Regions from separate parts of the Homo sapiens genome. Here region 2 is linked to region 1. Evidence: promoter capture Hi-C in human tissues and cell types (Jung and others, 2019). All regions are on one chromosome and are shown on one strand. The core of a region is centred on a gene start or on the middle of the fragment in contact, and the rest is flanking DNA. Distances in the headings are between cores, read along the strand shown. Region 1 holds the start of PRRC2B (proline rich coiled-coil 2B). Region 2 overlaps LOC105376299 (a long non-coding RNA gene).

Evidence for each region. The method cuts DNA at HindIII sites, captures the fragments that hold promoters and counts their contacts. A contact is called where the count stands out against the background at its distance.
Region 2: a contact is called between a fragment that was not itself captured here and the fragment with the promoter of PRRC2B in region 1, in 1 of the 25 tissues and cell types used here (spleen).

Annotation. Positions count from the first base shown.
Region 1 is chr9:131,392,459-131,395,931 of GRCh38, reverse strand. PRRC2B (proline rich coiled-coil 2B) reads right to left here and starts at 1,846. Exons shown (of 32, transcript NM_013318.4): 1 at 1,669-1,846. RefSeq lists enhancers at 585-1,346, 2,473-2,622 and silencers at 1,153-1,442, 1,673-1,782, 1,813-2,002. The HindIII fragment of the contact is 30,479 bases long and covers 1-3,473 here.
Region 2 is chr9:131,351,334-131,354,801 of GRCh38, reverse strand. All of the region lies in intron 3 of LOC105376299 (a long non-coding RNA gene), which reads right to left. Among named protein-coding and RNA genes, the nearest start is that of PRRC2B, 41 kb to the left of the region's middle. RefSeq lists an enhancer at 2,201-2,702. The HindIII fragment of the contact is 5,352 bases long and covers 1-3,468 here.

The sequences.
Region 1 (3,473 bases), core at 597-3,096:
TCAGAAGGCAGGACTCCTTGGGCGTCTGTTTGTCCTGAGCATCTCGTACTGTTCTAACCCTGCCTTAAACTGACCAACTGCCACACACTCCGGGTCTACTAAGTTCTAGAGACCTCCAAATGCTACTTTTTCCCATCCCTGCCTCCCGAGAGGCTCAGCACTGTATAAGCGCCCACTAATGTTTGGGCCTTGAATTCCTTCTGTATTGTCCATGCCTTAGGCCAGCACCTGTGGCATCCATGGGCACAGTTTGGCTCTATGGGTGGCACCACAAGGGGCTCACGTCTGTCCTAGGACTTGACAGCAGTTATACCAACAACCGTAGGAGGAACCACTAACTGTGCCAGGCCCTCTGCTAGGCCCTTCACCGCTGCCCAAACCTGCCAGGTGGAGGGTGCACGCCCCGATTTATGCAGATGAAGCCTCAGACAGCCCCAGAGTCACTAGGTTTACGGAAGAAAGAAGCAGGATCTGCACCCCAATGCCTGGGCCTCCCCAGTCCCACCTTACACCACAGCGCTGTGCATAGACATGACTAAATGGCTGCAGCGAGATTCGGAAAAACCATGCTAAGACCGCACACAATTGGTTACAAAAACCAAACTGGATGACACTGTACAAAGCCACATCAAATGCACACTAAACCTTAAAGAAAAAAAAAATCTTAGGGAAAGTTTAACAGTCCTGTAAACCAAAGGCATTTAAAGATTTCTCCCAGGAAGCCATTTAGCAAAAGACACTCCCCAGCCCCCCTTCTCCCACTTCCTTCAAGCTCACCACTGAAAACACCTCCAATTCTTGCCTAAAGGTGGGCTCCGACCTCCCACGATATTTAGAAGGAGGAAAAAAGAAAAAGGAAAAAAATCCACCTCTTAAGGCAAATCCACTCTTCAGAGGCCCACAGTTTCAACAGGGCTGAATTTCTCTCCTGGGGGTTGAGGGGAGGCAAAAGAGGAGGAAAAAAAAAAAAACCCCATCTGGCAGGCCCCGAGTGGCGACATCCTGTTTATTATTAAACATTTTTAGCATGGAGCATTCAGCATTTCGAAAATAACCCTCTGGTTCCCGCACTCACACCGAGACTGGGCGGCCGCTCGCCTCCCTCCCCCAGCCGCCAACTTTAGCGCCGCCGGGGCCCGGCCCACCCCGCGCCAGGAACGGCCCCGCGAACGCCGCTCAGCGCCCCGGACCCAAGGCCCGACCCCGCAGGATCCCGCCTCGGGCGCGCTGCTCCGTCAATTGGGCGGGGCGGGGAGCAAAGACGCCGGCCCCAGAACCCCGAGACCCGGCTGCGGGCCCGGGACCCCCGCCCCTCCGGCCTCTGCAGCCCGGCCCGGCCTCGGGGGTACGGGGGTGGCGGGCGAGCCCTGAGGGAGTCGCGCGGCCCCTGGACCCCGCCCGAGCCTGAGGCCGCGCGGCGCCGCCACAACAATGGCGAGCGCGCCCGGGCCCGCCGCCCCCAGGCCCCGCGGCCTCCCAGCCCCGCAGCCCCGCGCCCGGCGGGAAGGAGGCGGCGGCGGCCGCGCTCGCGGACAAAGGTCGGGCAGGGCCGCAGGGCCCCCGGGCCCCCGGCGGCGGCCGCGGGAGACAAAGCCCGGCCGGGCCGCGCCGCCTCCATCTTAGCGCCGCCGCCCCCACGCCCCGGCCCCGGCCCCGGCCCCGACCCACCTGGTCTGGTTCCGCGGGCGCGGCCGGGCCGGGCGATGGCAGTCGGGCGGCGGTCGGGCACGGGGGCGGCGGGATGGCGGCGGATTGCGAGGCGGCGGCGCGGGCTGCTCGCTCGCTCGCTCCCTCCCTCCTCCCGGGCTCGCTCGTCGCTGCGCGGTGGAGCCTCGGCGCCTGTCTCGCCGCTCGCTCCCTCGCGCTCGGCTCCCCGCCCCCCGCCTGCCGCCGCCCCCGCCTCCTCGTCCTCCTCCTCCCGCCGCCGCCCGCAACCTGGGCCCGCGCAGCGCCCCCTGCCGCGCCTCCCGGGAGCGGCGGCCTTGGGATCGGCCCGGGGGCCGGGCGAGGGCTGGGGCCAGGGGGGAGGGGCGGGGAGCGGCGGGAGGGGGCTGGGAGGGGGCTGGGAGTGGGGAGGGGCCCGGGGACGGCGGGAGAGGCGGGAGAGAACGGGGCAGAGCGGGGATCGGGGAGGAGACCCGGAGGAGGGGCCAGGAGCCAAGAGAAGGGGCCTGGGAAGGGCATGGGCCCGGCCTGGGCCCGGGGGAAGGGCGCCCGGAAAGAGGGGGAAGGGATGGAGGGGGCAGTGACGGGGGAGCGAGCCCGGATCTCCGCCCCCTCCCCCTTCAAAACTGCAGCGCCTCAGAACAGACTAAGCCCGGATTTTGTTAAAATATGTATACGGTATATGAACGGAAAGGAAGCAGAAATAATACTTTTTTCATTTCAAAAGCAAGGTTGTTGCACAATATGGGTACTTTGTCCCATTTTTACAAAATGAAAACTAATAAGCCCCTCCTCTTGAGTGTTGTGTGTTTGTGTGATTGCAAAACAAAAGGTCCGGGAGACTGCACTCCTGTCTTGGTTACCTCCGTGGTTTGAGGTTGGGAGAGCGGAGGAGGGTTCTTACTTTTTTAGACACCTAACCAACTATAAAAGCAATTTCAAAAAGCAAATACAAAAAAAAAATGTTAGGGCCTGGCACCCAAATCATCCCACCCTCTTCCAGTCACGGTTGCTCTAAGCACCAGCTGCGGGCCATGCCCTATGCTAAAGCACGTGGTTTGTCTCACTTAATCCTAACCCAGGGGCAGATATTATTGTTCTAATTCACAGGTGAGACAAAGGAGGCTTTGAGAGAATGTGCCCCAGGCCACACTGCTGGACCCAGAAGGAAAATTAACCCACTTCAGCCTAACTCCAGAACTGAGGCTGGTGAACAAAGCTTAGTTTTTGGGGAGTAGAATTCTGGATACTTTTATAGCCTTATTTATAATTCTCTGAATTTTCCTACATTTTATCCATGGTCATTTTCAGTGTTATCCTTTTTTTCTTTTTTCTTTTTTTTTTTTTTTGAGACAGTCTCGCTCTGTCCCCCAGGCTGGAGTGCAGTGGCACAATCCGCAATCTCTGCTCACTGCAACCTCCAACTCCTAGATTCAAGCGATTCTCCTGCCCCAGCCTCCTGAGTAGCTGGGATTACAGACATCTGCCACCATGCCCAGCTAATTTTTGTATTTTTGGTAGAGATGGGATTTCACCATGTTGGCCAAGTTGGTCTGGAACTCCTGCGCTAAAGTGATCCACCTACCTTGGCCTCCCAAAGTGTTGGGATTACAGTGCCGGCCACTCTGTTTTACATCATCAAATCTGCATTATTCCCCTGCCAATGTCTTCAATATTTCGCTATCTCTACAAAACAGGGAGGATGTAACCCTAATTTTTGTTTTCGATTTTGTTCCTTGACCATCTTCAGGAAGGCCATAGAATTGGCCCAGTGCTCAAAACCCAGCAACTAATAAAAATGATAGAAG
Region 2 (3,468 bases), core at 50-2,549, 41 kb after region 1:
AAAAAAAAACAAACTATATATCTATATCTATGTCTATATCTATATCTGGGAAAATTTGCATGAGGTTGGCTTTGGTTTTTTTGTTTTTGTTTTTTTTTTTGACAGAATCTTGCTCTGTTGCTCAGGCTAGAGAGCAGTGGCGCTATCTCGGCTCACTACAAGCTCTGCCTCTCGGGTTCACGCCATTCTCCTGCCTCAGCCTCCCAAGTAGCTGGGACTACAGGCGCCCGCCACCGCGCCCTGCTAATTTTTTGTATTTTTTTTTAGTAGAGGCCAGGAGTTTGAGACCAGCCTGGTGGGGTTTCACCATGTTAGCCAGGATGGTCTTGATCTCCTGACCTCGTGATCCGCCCGCCTTGGCCTCCCAAAGTGCTGGGATTACAGGCGTGAGCCACTGTGCCCGGCCATTTGGCGTTGGTTTTTTAAACAACACCAAAAGCACAGGCAACAAAAGAAAAAATGGATAAATCATACTTCATTAAAATTAAAGACTTCTATGCATCAAAGGACACTATGAAGGATGAAAAAATCCACAGAAGAAAACATTTGCAAATCACATATTGATGAGGGTTTAATTTCCAGATTATATAAATAACCCCTATAATTCAATTTTTTTTTTCTTGAGACGGAGTCTCACTCTGTCGCCAGGCTGGAGTGCAGTGGCACGATCTCGGCTCACTGCAACCTCCGCCTCCAGGGTTGAAGCGATTCCCCTGCTTCAGTCTCCTGAGTGGCTGGGACTACAGGCGTGTACCACCACGCCCGGCTAATTTTTTGTATTTTAATAGAGACAAGGTTTCACCATGTTGGCCAGGATGGTCTTGATCTCCAGACCTCATGATCCGCCCGCCTCATTCTCCCAAAGTGTTGGGATTACAAGCGTGAGCCGTTGCGCCCGGCCTTTTTTTTTTTTTTTTTTTTTTTAAGACGGAGTCTTGCTCTGTCACCCAGGCTGGAGTGCAGTGGCGCAATCTTGGCTCACTGCAACCTCCGCCTCCCGGGTTCGAGTGATTCTCCTGCTTTAACCTCCTGAGTGGCTGGGATTACAGGTGCATGCCACCACACCCGGCTAATTTTTATATTTTTAGTGGAGACAGAGTTTCACCATGTTGGCCAGGCTGGTCTCAAACTCCTGGCCTCAAGTGATCTGCCTGCCTTGGTCTCCCAAAGTGCAGGGATTACAGGTGACAATTCAATTTTAAAATGAGCAAAGAGGGCTGAAACAGGAGGATCACTTGAGCCCGGGAGGTTGAGGCTGCAATGAGCAGAGATCGGGCCACTGCACTCCAGCCTGGGTGACAGAATGAGACCTTGTCCCAAACAAAGCAAAACCACTATGAAATACAACTTCATACCCACTAATTTTTATTAGAGCCGGCTCTAATTAAAAAAATGGGAAGTAACAAGTGTTGGCAAGAATGTGGAGAAATGGCTGGTGGGAACGAAAATGGTGTCTCTACTTTGGAAATCGGTTTGGCTATTCCTCAGAAAGTTCAACACAGAGTTACCATATGACACGGCAATTCCATTCCTAGGTCTATGCCCACAGGATTGAAAGCAGGGACTCAAACAGGAACTCGTACGCCAACATTCATAGCGAGGTTATTCACAACAGCCAAAAGGTGGGAACAATTGAAACATCCCTCAGCAGAGGAATGGACAAGCACGATGTGGTACAGTCCCACACCACAATGTTTTGGTTAATGATGGGCCGCACGTATGACTGTCGTCCCATGCGATTATAATGGAGCTGAAAAATTCCTATCGCCCAGTCTATCGTAGCTGTCACAATGTCTACGACAATGTGTTACTCATGTGTTTGTGGTGATGCTGGTGTAAAAGAACAGCAGGAGCATATGATTATGTATTGAACCTAGTATTTTTTATTATTTCTTTTTGAGACAGAGTGTGGCTCTATTGCCCAGGCTGGAGTGCAGCGGTGTAATCTCAGCTCACTGCAACCTCCGCCTCCTGGGTTCAAGCAATTCTCTTGCCTCAGCCTCCCGAGTAGCTGGGATTACAGGCATACAACACCATGCCCAGCTAATTTTTGTACTTTTTTAGTAGAGATGGGATTTCTCCATGTTGGCCAGGCTGGTCTTGTACTCCTGACCTCAGGTGATCCACCCACCTCAGCTTCCCAAAGTGCTGGGATTACAGGCGAGAGCCACCACACCCAGCCTTGTTTTTTTTTTTTGAGACAGAGTCTTGCTGTGTCACCCAGGAGTGCAGTGGTGCCATCTCAGCTCACCGCAACCTCCGCCTCCTACTCTCAGGCGATCCTCCCACCTCAGCCTCCCAAGTAGCTGGGACTACAGGTGCAAGCCCCCACACCTGGCTAACTTTTTGTATTTTTTGGTAGAGACGGGGTCTTGCCATGTTGCCCAGGCTGGTGTTGAACTCCTGGGCTCAAGTGATCTGCCCACCTTAGCCTCCCAAAGGGCTGGGATTACAGGCATGAGCCACCAAGCCCACTGGCATTATTATCACATATCTCAGCTTCATGCATGTTATTGCCCCTGAAAACCTTCTAGGTGGTCAAGATGTGGAGGTGGACAACAGTGATACTGATGATTCTATCCCTGTGTAGGCCTAGGCTCATGTGTGTGCTAATGTCTTTGTTTTGTTTTGTTTAAATAAGAGACAGGGCCTCACTGTGTTGCCCAGACTGGGTTCAGGTCATCCCCTTGCCTCAGCCTCCCGTAGGTGGGACTGCAGGCATATCTTACCTCACCTGGCTTGTGTCTCAGTTTTTAACAAAAAACTTTTAAAAGTAAAAAAATAGGCCAGGTATGGTGGCTCACACCTGTAATCCCAGCACTTTGGGAGGTTGAGGTGGTTGGATCACAAGGTCAGGAGATTGAGACCATCCTGGCCAACATGGTGAAACCCCGTCTCTAATAAAAATACAAAAATTAGGCGGGTGTGATGGCGCGTGCCTGTAATTCCAACTACTCAGGAGGCTGAGGCAGGAGAATCACTTGGACCTGGGAGTTGGAGGTTGCAGTGAGCCAAGATCACGCCACTGCACTCCAGCCTGGTGACAGAGCGAGACTCCGTCTCAAAATAAATAAATAAATAAAAATAAAAAATAAAAGTAAAAAAATAAAAAATAAGAAATTTTAAAAATAGAAAAAAGATTATAGAATAAGGATATAAAGAAAATATTTTTGTACAGCTATGCAATATATTTGCATTATAAACTAAGCATTATTGTAAGAGTGAAAAAGTTCAAAAAAGTTTATAAAGTAAAAATTTTAAAAGTTACATTAAGGGTTAATTTATTATTGAAGAAAGACTTTTTTTTTTTTAAGTTTTTAAAATTTTTCACATACAGACAGGGTCTTATTATGTTGCCCAGGCTGGTCTCAAAGGAATCCTCTAATCTTAGCCTTCCAAAGTCCTGGGATTACAAGCATGAGCCACCATGCCCGGCCAAGAAAGAATTTTTTTTTTTTTTTTGAGGCA